Regions from separate parts of the Homo sapiens genome. Here region 2 is linked to region 1. Evidence: promoter capture Hi-C in human tissues and cell types (Jung and others, 2019). All regions are on one chromosome and are shown on one strand. Each heading gives the region's core, a stretch centred on a gene start or on the middle of the fragment in contact. The rest is flanking DNA. Distances are from core to core; before and after follow the strand shown.

Evidence for each region. Contacts are between HindIII fragments. The study calls those that stand out against the background at their distance.
Region 2: a contact is called between a fragment that was not itself captured here and the fragment with the promoter of STK38 in region 1, in 1 of the 25 tissues and cell types used here (aorta).

Annotation. Positions count from the first base shown.
Region 1 is chr6:36,543,404-36,550,132 of GRCh38, forward strand. STK38 (serine/threonine kinase 38) reads right to left here and starts at 4,076. Exons shown (of 14, transcript NM_007271.4): 1 at 3,787-4,076. RefSeq lists an enhancer at 3,611-4,134 and a silencer at 3,882-4,221. The HindIII fragment of the contact is 5,084 bases long and covers 2,133-6,729 here.
Region 2 is chr6:35,985,793-35,992,521 of GRCh38, forward strand. It overlaps SLC26A8 (solute carrier family 26 member 8), which reads right to left. Exons shown (of 20, transcript NM_052961.4): 6 at 6,718-6,729; 7 at 5,867-6,016. It overlaps LOC105375035 (a long non-coding RNA gene), which reads left to right. Exons shown (of 7, transcript XR_926747.3): 7 at 6,626-6,729. It also overlaps the pseudogene DPRXP2. Among named protein-coding and RNA genes, the nearest start is that of SLC26A8, 35 kb to the right of the region's middle. The HindIII fragment of the contact is 6,825 bases long and covers 1-5,809 here.

The DNA.
Region 1 (6,729 bases), core at 2,826-5,325:
CATATGATCTACTTCTCTGTCTCTTCATCCCAATATAAAGCTGAGTAAAAATTAGGAGAGGCTGAACACTGTGGTTCATGCCTGTAATCCCATCACTTTGGGAGGGTGAGGTAGAGAGATCATTTGAGCCCAGGAGTTCATGAGTCCAGGAATTCAAGACCAGCCTGGGTAACATAGCAAGACCCTGTCTCTACTACCCCCCACAGCTGCAGCAAAAAAGAATCATGAGAGTCAAAGGGCCATTTTTCTTTTTTTGGAAATGGAGTCTCACTCTGTCGCCCAGGCTGGAGTGCAATGGCACAATCTCGGTGCACTGCAACCTCCGCCTCCTGGGTTCAAGCGATTCTCCTGCCTCAGCCTCCCAAGTAGTTGGGACTACAGGGACATGCCATCACCCCCAGCTAGTTTTTAGTAGAGACGGGGTTTCACTATGTTGGCCAGGCTAGTCTTGAACTCCTGACCTCAGATGATCTGACTGCCTGGGCCTCCCAAAGTGCTGGGATTAGAGGCATAAGCCACCGCACCCAGCCAAGGACCATTTTCAAAGATAGTGCATTTTAAGAAAAGTTTTCAGGTTTTCCCCCTTAATATTTAGTAGCTTTTTAAATTGTTTTGTGGATTAAACTAAGGCTTATAAAACACTTGTTCAAAAAAGCCTTAAAATTATTTAAAAAGCAATTATTTAAAAAGATACGCAGACAAAAATCACATAAATAATTCCTTCAGAGCAGAGATTCAAAACTAAGACTCTACTTGAGAGTCAAACATTTTGATTCATCATGTGCCAAAAAGATCAGTAAAAACAAATTTAAGACACTGCATTAAGAGCTACCTTACTATAAAATATCACATTATTTTTTATGGGGAAGTTTCGACTAATACCAAAGCAAACTCAAATGTTTTAGAGTATCACTAAAGGAATTAAAAAAAACAAAAACAACAAAAAAAAAACCTCTGTTTGGTTTGTGAAGCTTGGGTGTGGTTCCTTATTTGTCAGCCTGTACCCCCCCCTCCACCCACAATGAAAACCACATGCACTCTAAGTGTGTTTGGTGAAGAAATTTAAAAACCAGATGTAAAAACATGTCAAAAGCAAGTGAGAGTTTTGTACTTCCTTGTCTGAAAATTCCTGAAGAAATTGCATATATGTAGTTACATTTTAACAACTGAAATTACTTCAACATAAAAATGTAACAATTTGCCAGGGCACTGGTGCACCCCTGTAATCTCAGCACTTTGGGAGGGAGAGGTAGGAGATTGCTTGAAACCAGCCTGTGCAACATGGCAAAACCCCCGTTGCTACAAAAAAATACAAAAAATTGGCCAGGTGTGGTAGCACACACCTGTAGTCCCAGCTACTCAGGAGGCTGAGGTGGGAGGATTGCTTGAGCTGGAGAGGCAGAGGTTTCAGTGAGTTTGGCTTGTGCCACTGCACGCCAGCCTGGGACAGAGCAAGACTCTGTCTTAAAAACAACAACAACAACAACAAACACAACACAACAATCTGCTAGTATTTAACCCTAAGGCAAACAGTGCCTTCCATATAACAGGCAGTTGAGTAAGTTAATGATTTTTAGTTGTCAACAAAGCTAAAGAATAAAGATGGCCGGACACGGTGGCTCATGCCTGTAATCCCAGAACTTTGGGAGGCTGAGGCAGGTGGATCACCTGAAGTCAGGAGTTGGAGACTAGCTTGGCCAACATGGTGAAAGCCTGTCTCTACTAAAAATACAAAAAAAATTAGCCGGGTGTGGTGGTGGGCACCTGTAATCCCAGCTACTTGGGAGGCTGAGGCAGGAGAATCGCTTGAACCCTGGAGGCACAGGTTGCAGTGAGCCAAGATCACACCACTGCACTCTAGCCTGGGTGAGTGAGACTCCGTCTGGAAAAAAAAAAAAAAAAAAAAAAAAAAGAATAAAGACTACATTTACACTGATGGATATATCAAAAATGCTTTGACTAATTTAAGTAGCTGGCTTGCATTACTACCTAAACTTTTAAAAAGATCAAAAGGACATTAAATGAACTCAAAGATGCTCAAATATTAGACCAACAAATTCTTAAGCAGAGTGTTTTTCAACTTTTAGAGTTTCTAATATAATGATAAAGACTGCACTCTCCTTCCCTTTGACCTTTCTTTAAACCCTCCTCCACTTCCTCTATTGTAATATAAAAAATTTAGCCTAATTCTAATATCCTTTAATCAAAAGATGTAATTAATATTGCCCTATAGCAATTCATAGATTTACTGGGTCAACCAACTTTTCTTAAGACAGGACTATCCATCAGGCTTTCCACAATTCAAGCCTTCCTGCCCTGACCTAGAAGCCATTGGAGGCCTTTGCCCCATTTGTTTCATTCTTCAACTCTGAAGAATTAGGAAATAATAGGTGGCTGAGGAATTCTTCAAAGTTTTAAAAAATTAACAAAAGGAACTGATCCTCATAAAAGTCAGGTGTAAGGCCTGCAAACTCAAAAGGAAGTCAAATGAAAACCATTATGTGATTCAATCTATATGGTTATGCCTGGCTAACTGACTGACTTTACAATGGTACTCTGTGATCACTATAAACAACCCTCTCTCAACAATATGGACTTTATTTCTTTGCGACTGACAATCCATTATCTTTCATTTGGACGATTCAACATTGGAGCTAAGATTATTGCTTAAGTCGCATGTCTAATCTCTCCCACTGAACTGTAAATCCTACTAAACTGTAATCTCTACCTACACTAGAAAGCAAGCACCATGTCTTATACTTGTTTTAATATTCTTCCCCCATTTCATGCACAGTGCTATGCACTTAGCACCTTAAGAAAGATTAACTAGGAAATATACTCATTTTTGATGTCCATTCCTAGGAGTTTATGTGTGATGGGGGATAGGGCTGGGACATGAAATGGTTTGCTATAGCGTTCTCTCCTCTTAGGAGGAAGCTGGTATCTAACGTTTAGGGTGGGGAGGAGAGCCTGTTATCGAGGTGGTGGTTGTTTTATGTTTAGGGAAACCAAATATATTGCCTGGCTAATTCAGAGGCAGGGTGAGCTCAAAGGGTGGAGACACTCAGGGTCTACTTCACTCCAACCCTCCTCGGTGCATTTCAAACAGAACAAGTTTCTCTCCGAGTCTTTTAGTCGTTTCAGAATGAACTGAGAGATCTGGTCTCTCTGCCGGCCGTTCTGCCCGCTTTCTGACACAGACTTTCCTCTAAGCCCTTACCGACTTTTTCCTCTGGCTGTTGCTTTTCCACTCTCTTCTTAAGAATTTTCCCTGCCTTTTCCTGTGATTTGAAGCTTATCTGAAGCCCAGTATCCTAAGACTAACGGAGAAAGGAGCCGACTCAAAGATACCACACCCCAAGGGGGGCTTTCGACATCTCTGCCTCAGACCACAGTTCACAGACCCCAGAAGAAGGAAAAGGAGATAAAAACCGGTGATGACCGAGATCCCTGAGGGACTGACTGGTGGCAGGGAGCAGACAAAGGTGGCAACATGGAAAGGAAAGCCTGGCTCCCGCTCCAACTGCAAAAGGAGAAAGATAAAGGATGGGGTGGAAAGGCTGGGACTGGAAAAATGTGGAGAGGGCCAACAAGGGGCATCTGGAGACGGGGGAAGAAGGGGGTTAAGGAGAGGGGCGGAGAGAGGCCAAGAGGCTGAGAGGTTAGGGCTTGAAAGAGGGCGCCGGCGAGCAGGAGAAAGCCCAAGAAGGAGTCGGAGGTTGGGGAAGGAGGAGATAAAGGAAAAACCCCGGGATGGAGTGAAGACGGCGGCAGCAAGCAACTCACCAGAGCCCAGGGAGAGGCAGGGCTGGGGACGGCGGAGAGCCGCAGACGCCCCTTCGGCCAGTAGTCTCGACTTGAAGGCTGGCGAAGCCCCGGCGGCGGCAGCCAACGAGCCAAAGACGGGAGGGGACGCGTGAGGGACTCTGAGACAGGGGGCAACAGGCGGTTACGGGTGAGGACAACAGGAAGCGTTCCAACTGCCGGAAAAGACGCGAGCGCTGAGGGGCCAAGGCAGCCCGGTCCCCCGCCGCGGAGACGGGCTGGCGCGGCAGCCCGGGGCCGAGACTACGCATGCGCGACTTCCCGGAGCGGCCGGGATTGCGGAACTGCGCTTGCGTGGCCCCGCCCTGCCCCTCCCTTCACCCCCTGCCTAGGGCTGGCTGGACCTGGGTGAGGCCAGATGTGTGAGTGTGAGGCGGTCTCGAAGTAGGCTGGGCTGAGGGGGAAGTTCCATTGTTTTCTTTTGTTTTACTTTTTACTTCGAAATAATTATGGACTCACAAGAAGTTGCAAAATTAATACATACAGGTTCCCTATACCATCACCCACCCAGCTTACCTCAACATTTTTCTTAAGATACAACATTCTCAAAGCCAGGAAATTGACATTCGCACAATACAATTAACTAAACCAATACAATTAACTAAACCAATACAATTAACTTCATTACAGACCACACTCGGATTTAACCTGTTGGGTATGCAGTCATGTGCGTGTGTGTGAGTGTGTGTGTAGTTCTATGAAATGTTGTCACCTGTATAGTTCCCACCCACCCCCCTACCCCGTGTAGAACAGGTCTGCTGGAGCCCTTGGCCCCCCTCCTCTTCCTTAAAGTAAGGACCTTACCTGGGATAAGGTGAGCTCTCATAGGTTTGGGAGGTTACCCAGCGGGCGACCCAGTGTGGACAGAAGAAGGTGCTTTTCAAGGCCACCCAACTCTTATTCTGTACTACTTTTGGGGGTAAAGAGGTCCCAAGTTTAATAGCCTTTGGGCACTTGTCGTTTCTTGAGAATGGAGCACAAAGCCCTCAACTACAAAGTGTCAAGCTCCTGGAAACTAAGATGAACGAGACATGGTCCCTGACTGCCTGCAAAGGGGCCATCTAGGGAGAGAAGGAAGCATGTGCTGCGAGTTATTCATTCATTTCATCTTCAAAGCCCAGTTTCCTTTTGTCTAGCCTCTTAACAAAAATCACTTCTCGCCAGGCGCGGTGGCTCCTGCCTGTAATTCCAGCACTTTGGGAGGTCCAGGTGGGAGGATAGCTTGAGCCTAGGAGTTTGAGACCAGTCTGGGCAACATAAGGAGAATCCACCTCTAAAAAAATTTTTGTAATTGGCCAGCATGGTGGCAAGTGCCTGTGGTCCCACCTACTGTGGAGGCTGAAGCAGGAGGATTGATTGAGTCCAGGAGTTCAGGGCTGCTATGAGCCATGATCATGACACTGCACCCCAGCCTGGGCAACGGAGGGAGACCCTGTCTCAATCAGTCACTACATACATATCAATCAATCACTTCGCCTTTCATTCTCTCTGCCCAGAGGCCCTTCTCCCCAAATGCCTGTTGTCAAAGTCCTACCCATTCTTAAGCTTTTAATAATAGTCCAAGATGTCTGCATAATGCTTTACAGTTTACAAACAACTTTCACTTATTTAATCTCACTTGGTCCTCACTTTGGCAGTGACACACGAGGTTTTGCAGATGAAGTAATTGATACTTAGAGAAGCTAAGTGACTTGTCTGAATTCCCACGGCTAGTAAGCCAAGTAGCCAAGAGGGGAACCCCATTTTCTGTCTGCAAATCCAATGTTCTTTCTCCTCTTCTCTTTCCTCCTTCCAAAGCCCAGCTCAAACCTTATCTTCCTCCTGGAACTTTCCCAGTTTCAGAAGAGGAATTTCACTCTCTCTTCTCTCTTATATATATGTTTTTTTTGGTGGGGGGAGGGGGGTTGTTTTTGTTTTGTTTTGAGACGGAGTGTCGCTCTATCACTAGGCTGGAGTGTAGTGGCACGATCTCGGCTCACTGCAACCTCCACCTCCCAGGCTCAAGTGATTCTCCTGCCTCAGCCTCCTTAGTAGCTGGGACTACAGGACTACAGGCACGTGCCACCATGCCCAGCTAATCTTTTCTTCTTCTTCTTCTTCCTCTTCTTCTTCTTCTTCTTCTTCTTCTTCTTCTTCTTCTTCTTCTTCTTCTCCTTCTCCTTCTCCTTCTCCTTCTTCTTTTTTTTTTTTGAGACGGAGTCTTGCTCTGTTGCCCAGGCTGAAGTGCAGTGGCGCGATCTCTGCTCACTGCACGCTCCGCCTCCCGGGTTCACACCATTCTCCTGCCTCAGCCTCCCGAGTAGCTGGGACTACAGGCGCCCGCCACCAAGCCCGGCTAATTTTTTGTATTTTTAGTAGAGACGGGGTTTCACCATGTTAGCCAGGATGGTCTCGATCTCCTGACTTTGTGATCTGCCCGCCTCGGCCTCCCAAAGTGCTGGGATTACCGGCGTGAGCCACCGCGCCCGGCCTTTTTTTTTTGTATTTTTACTAGAGATGGGGTTTCACCATGTTGGCCAGGATGCTGTCTATCTCTTGACCTCGTGATCTGCCCACCTCCGCCTCCCAAAGTGCTGGGATTACAGGCGTGAGCCACCGCACCCGGCCCTTTCCTCCTATATTAATTTATCTGTACCACAACTCAAATAAGCACTAAAGTTTTCCTCAAAACAGCCCAGCCAAATTATGCTGCTCTTTCTGCAGGAACCCAAAAGGTGACATTTTACCAAGATTCCAATAACTATAATGGACGTTTGTCATTCTTTTTGGCCACTTGAGCATCTGAATCCCTTTCCTATCACCAAAACTGAAATCACTTATACCCATCCCAGACTGTGAGTTGGAAATTAGAAAGATCTGACCTGCATAATTTTGATGTTGTCACATCCCCGTGTTTGTTTGTTT
Region 2 (6,729 bases), core at 1,147-3,646, 560 kb before region 1:
ATGGGCTGGGAAAGGAGAGGCTGTCTCTGACTGCACCCTACAAACTCCATATACACATTGTTTCCCGAGCTCTAGAGCACCATTTGTATCCAGGGTTTTGTTTTTAAGAATTAACAAATAAAAATCATATATATTTGTCATATACAACATGTTGTTTTAAAATATATATATATACACATTGTGGCATGGCTGAATCGAGCTATTAATAGATGCATTACTTCACATATACATCTTTTTTTTTTTTTTTTTTTTTTTTTTTGAGACGGAGTTTTGCTCTTGTTGCCCAGGCTGGAGTGCAATGGCACAATCCCGGCTCACTGCAACCTTCACCTCCTGGGTTCAAGCAATTCTCCTGCCTCAGTCTCCCATGTAGCTGGGATTACAGGCATGTGCCATGATGCCCAGCTAATTTTGTGTTTTTAGTAGAAACAGAGTTTCTCCCTGTTGGCCAGGCTGGTATCGAACTCCTGACCTCAGGTGATCCACGCGCCTCGGCCTCCCAAAGTGCTGAAATTACAGGTGTGAGCTACCATGCCTACATATCTTTTTTGGTGTGGTGAAAACACTTAAAATCTAATCTCTTGGCAATTTTCAAGAATATGATACATTGTTACTAACTGTAGTTACTATATTGTACAAAAGATCTCTTGAAATTATTCCTCTTATCAAATTGAAATTTTGTATCCTTTGGCCAACATCTCCCCAAACCACTCTCCCGCAACTCTAGACCCTGGTAACCACCATTCTACTCTTCACTTCAATGAGTTCAACCTTTTTAGATTCCACATATCAATGAGATCATGCAGTACTTTTCTTTCTGTGCCTGGCTTATTTCACTTAACATGTCCTCTGGGTTCATCCATGTTGTCCCAAATGACAAGATTTCCTTCTTTTTATTTTTTATTTTATTTTAATTTTTTTAAACAAAATACCCAGGCTTTAAGGAGAAGGATTTCCTTTTTTTTTAAGGCTGAATAGTATTCCATTGTATATGTATACCACATTTTTTTAAAAATCATTTTTTGTTACATGTCTGTCAACTAATACCTGTATATACCACATGTATCCATTTATCTGTTGATGAACACTTGGGTTGATTCCGTATCTTAGGTCTTTTAAATAGTGCTGCAGCGAACATGAGAGTGCAGGTATCTACTCAACATATTGATTTCATTTCCTTTAGATATATACCCAATAGTGGGATTGCTGGATCTGCCTTCAGGGTTTTGTAAAATCTTTTGAAAAACAAGCCTTTCAGCTTCTGGGCTTTATGAATTAATAGCTTTTCAAACATTCAAAGGGAAAAGAATATGCACCTCTACAAGAACTAGGTAACAGTTATAAGAAAGTTTAGTCTAAAGTCCCAAGGCAGTATTTTTCAACCTTGAAGAGGATAGACCTGGATTAGTTAGTATAAGTGGGTTATGCTGTGGCAATGTACAAGCCATGAGATTGTAGCATTTTAACACATCGAAGTTATTTTTTTGCCCACACAAAGTCCATGGTGGGTTGGTATCTCTCAGGCAGCTTCTTTGCAAGCAGTGCCCCAGGGATTTGAGCTAATTTCACCTAGGGATTCCATTTCCTTTTCTTTTTTTTGAGACAGAGTCTTGCTGTCTCCCAGGCTGGAGTGCAGTGGCATGATCTCAGCTCACTGCAAGCTCCGCCTCTCGGGTTCATGCCATTCTCCTGCCTCAGCCTCCCGAGTAGCTGGGACTACAGGTGCACAACACCATGCCCAGCTAATTTTTTTGTCTTTTTAGTAGAAACAGGGTTTCACCATTTAGCCAGGATGGTCTCAATCTCCTGACCTCGTGATCCACCTGTCTCGGCCTCCCAAAGTGCTGGGATTACAGGCGTGAGCCACCGCTCCCAGTCTCCATTTTCTTAACATACTGCCCCTGTCATCATCACAGCAGGGGAGGAAAGAAGAGGGAACTTGCACCTATTCACCTCTACTTTGGCTCAAAAGTCACAGGGTCCTCCTAATTGCAAGAGAGACTGGGAGGTGCAGGGGACACATGATTATTTGGTTAACTTTAAGCATCTTTGCCACAGACCACCACTTAAAAAAGAAATAATTCTCATTGACACCCAAAAATTCAGCAACCTTTCTTTCTTTTTTTTTTTTTTTTTTTACATGGAGTCTTGCTCTGTCGTCCAGGCTGGAGGGCAGTGGCATGATCTTGGCTCACTGCGACCTCCGCCTCCCGGGTTAAGTGATTCTCCTGCCTTAGCCTCTGGAGTAGCTGGGATTACAGGCACACGCCACCATGCCCGGCTAATTTTTGTATTTTTAGTAGAGACAAGGTTTCACCATGTTGGCCAGGCTGGTCTTGAATTCCTGACCTCAGGTGGTCGGCCCACCTCGGCCTCCCAAAGTGCTGAGATTATAGGCGTGAGCCACCGTGCCCGGCCCCGAATTCAGCAATCTTAAAATGAAAAATGCTGACTTAGAAAATCTGAGCTTTATTGATGAAAATATCTTTATCATGGTAAAATGTTAATTATAACTGTAAAAGATAAATTTTATCAGCAGATTTTAGAAAAGAAACAAGAGGCCAGATGCATTGGCTCATGCCTGTAATCCTGGCACGTTGGGACACTGAGGCAGGCAGCTCACTTGAGGTCAGGAGTTTGAGGCCAGCCTGGCCAACATGGCGAAACCCCCATCTCTACTAAAAATATAAAAATCAGCTGGGCATGGTGGTGGGCACCTGTAATCCCAGCTACTCGGGAGGCTGAGGAAGGAGAATCGCTTGAATCTGGGAGGCGGAGGTTGCAGTGGGCCGAGATCATGCCACTGCACTCCAGACTGGGTGACAGAGCGAGATTCTGCCTCAAAGAAAAAAGAAAAGAAAAGAAAAGAAACAAGAAATATTATTATTAGACAGTGAGCCCTAGCTCTGCTACTTACTAATGACACAGATTAGAAAAAACATTTAACATCTCATTTGCCTCAATTTCTTTGTTATATATATTTATTTTTATTAAGGTATAATTTAGATACAATAAAGTGCACAGCTTTTAGATATACAGTTCTATACGGTTTTTTTTTTTTTTTTTGAGACGGAATCTCGCTCTGTTGCCCAGGCTGGAGTACAGTGGTGCAATCTCGGCTCACTGCAAGCTCTGCCTCCCAGGTTCATACCATTCTCCTGCCTCAGCCTCCCGAGTAGCTGGAACTATGGGCGCCTGCCACCTCGCCCGGCTAAGTTTTTGTATTTTTAGTAGAGATGGTGTTTCACCATGTTGGCCAGGATGGTCTCAATCTCCTAACCTCGTGATCCACCCACCTCGGCCTCCCAAAGTGCTGGGATTACAAGCGTGAGCCACCGCACCCGGCCAGTTCTATATGTTTTGAGGAATTTATACGCCAGGTAACTGCCACCCTAACTAACAGCTAATTAACACATGAAACATTTCCATCACCCTGATAAATTAGTTTTCTACCACTTACTATTTAATTTTTCCACATGGGCAGCCACTAATCTTTTTGTCATGACAGATTAGTTTTTCCTGCTCTAGGAATTCATGTAATGGAATTATACAGTATGTAGCCTTTTGTGTCTTTTTTCTTTCATGCTACATAATGTTTTTGAAATCCATCCATGTTGTACACACAATGTGTGTGTGTATCTCCGGGTTTGTTCCTTATTGATGAAAAGTACTCTCTTGTAGGAAATCATTACACACATTACAATATGTTACCTTTTGTGTCTAGTATCTCTCTCTACTTTGTAGAGGTGAACAGTCAAAAGAATTAGAATTGAAACATGGAGAATAAACTCAGGATTCCAAAAATGGGATAGAAGCAGAAGCAGTATGTTCTAGGATCTTGGCAGCAGTCAAAATGAAGTGTTTTGTGGACAACAAAGTCATCTGTAGGGACCTTAACATCGGAGCATAACGTGAGTCGCAACCAGGGTGCCCAGTGATCTGTATAAACTAGGACTACAAGATAGGCATCATTAGGAGATTTGGCTGGTATATCTGTATTTCTTAGGAAGGACTGGTCTTGACTCTATCCTCAGCTAATTGCTGTTGTTGAGATTGTGTTTGCTGAATAAGCTTGCATTTTGCTTTCTTGAGTTTTGTTCTGTTTTTTTTTTGTTTGTTTGTTTGTTTTCTTTTCTTTTTTTTTTTTTTTTTTTTTTTTTTTTGAGACGGAGTCTCGCTCTTTCACCCAAGCTGCAGTGCAGTGGCACTATCTCGGCTCACTGCAAGCTCTGCCTCCTGGATTCATGCCATTCTCCTGCCTCAGTCTCCTGAGTAGCTGGGATTACAGGCACATGCCACCGCACCCGGCTAGTTTTGTATTTTTATTAGAGACAGGGTTTCTCCATGTTGGTCAGGCTGGTCTCGAACTCCCGACCTCGGGTAATCTGCCTGCCTTGGCCTCCTAAAGTGCTGGGATTACAGGCATGAGCCACCGCACCTGGCCTCTGCTCTGTGGTTCTTGAGCCAAACCTGTACTGTTGGATACATGTCCATTTTTGAGGCCATTTCTTTCTGAAGGCTGAGGTTTGGGTATGGGTTCTTATTGAACAAGATGTTCAAATCTTCCAATTGTTTCTCCATGAACATCATATGTTCCCTTTGTGAATGCATCTGGTTCTAGCCATAGGAAAGGGCCGTTCATTTCCTCCTTGGTTCTTTGGCCCTTTGCCTGTTATCATTTAACATGAGATTGCTTGTGCCTCAACTCTTGGATTTTATTTTATTTTAATTTTTTAGGAAGGTCCTCTCAGTTTGACATCTTCTCATCTAGATGTGCTCCTATGTTCAAGTCCAGGGATGAGCTGCCTCAATTTCCTTATTGTAGCATAGTGAGAAGGAATGGAAGTTGAAAACAGTGTGATTTCAACTACATTAAAATAAAAATAAAACATTTATGTAGAAAAAGACGGAAATTCACCAACATTGAGGCTAGGCCTGTCATATGTTTGTCTGAGAGAAGAAAGGAGTGAATAACTGAAAATACTAAAGTATCAATAGTAGTTGACTTTGGATGGTGCAACTATAGGAATTTCTTTTCCTCAACCACTTTTTTAAACTTCCTTATGTTTTTCAAACTTAGAATGAGCCCGTATTTCTTTCATAAGGGGAAAAAAAAACCTTATCCTTGAAATCTTATGAGAACGAGGCAATAGATAAAAGTACTTGGAGAATAAGCATTGTGTGAGGGAGATCTATTGTGCTATTGTGACTATAGTTAATAATGTGTACTTGCAATTGCTAAGAGAGTAGATCTTAAATGTTCTCACAACAAAAATAATAACTGCTGCTAGGGCTGCAAGGCGAAAACAATTAAAAATGATAATTAGGCCAGGCGTGGTGGCTCACGCCTGTAATCCTAGCACTTTGGGAGGCCGAGACAGGTGGATCACCTGAGGTCAGGAGTTTGCGACCGGCCTGGCCAACATGGTGAAACCCTGTCTCTATTAAAAAAAATACAAAAATTAGCTCGCCATTGTGGCACACACCTGTAATTCCAGCTACTCAGGAGGCTGAGGCAAGAGAATTGCTTGAACCTGGGAGGCAGAGGTTGCAGTGAGCCAAGATTGCACCACTGCACTCCATCCTGGGCAGCAGAGCAAGACTCTGTCAAAAAAAAAAAAAAAAAAAACTTGATTTAAACATTTCACTATGTATATCAGAATATCACATCATAAACAATAGATTCAATTTTTAGTTGTCAACTGTAGTATTAAAATATTTTAGAAAAAGAAAACAAGCATGTTTTCACAAATATAAGCATATATTGAAAACTAAATGTATTCAGCTTTTACACAATTCAACTCAGCATTTTTTTAAAATACTAAAATTATGCAAACTATGAATTTGAGACATCAAAAACACCTACCAGAAATAATTCCATGGGAAACTCAATGGGATACTGATTGAAAGAAATTCTGATACATTTGTTGATTCGCAGAGCAACAACAACAGTTAGAAATACTAGAATGCTGGTGGAATTCGCTTTTGGGAGAGCTACACAGTAATTAATTATGTCCTGAAAGAAAATAAAATTACGGAGGCTTAGAAAGGGATGTAGTAATTGCCTAAGTCTAGAAATTGACACTGTAGATTAACCCAAAAAGAAGTCCCCAAGTAGAGTTTCTGGGTACAAAGGTCTTTATGGGTATTACTAGAACAGTGAGGGCAAGCATGGTGGGGGTGGCCAATTTTGTAAAAAGAGGGACAGTAATGCTCAATAAGAATAAGGAGAGAATACACTGTATGTTTTAGTATAATGAACAGGCCCTAGAAGTTCTGTTTATAAGCCAATAGTTATTAGTTTTCCCAAATAATATACTGTAGCTTAGCTCCTACCCTATTCTTACATTTAGGAACTACTTAGTCTTGTATATCCTTTAGATGTTTTAGGATACATGTCTGTTATAAGATAGGTAATGAGAAGAACTGTGATAGATACAATATCTTAAAGGCCAAATTTTAATGTATATCATGATAGTTTAAAAGGCTGAGCTGAAATGGTTAGTCAACTGAAAGCATGGTCTAACTGGCATCTGCAATTAATCAAGACCCTAATTCTCCAATAAAGGAAAATATTTCTAGTACCCTCTTGACTGAGCTGCCTATAGGCTGTGTCTCCTTTCAGAAGGGGCGGGAGTCTCCCTACTGAGCTCCACTTTTCTTTGGAGGCAAGAGGAGTGGCATTTGTAACTCTGGGTAAGAGTTGAAATTACTCACATAGAAGAAGGA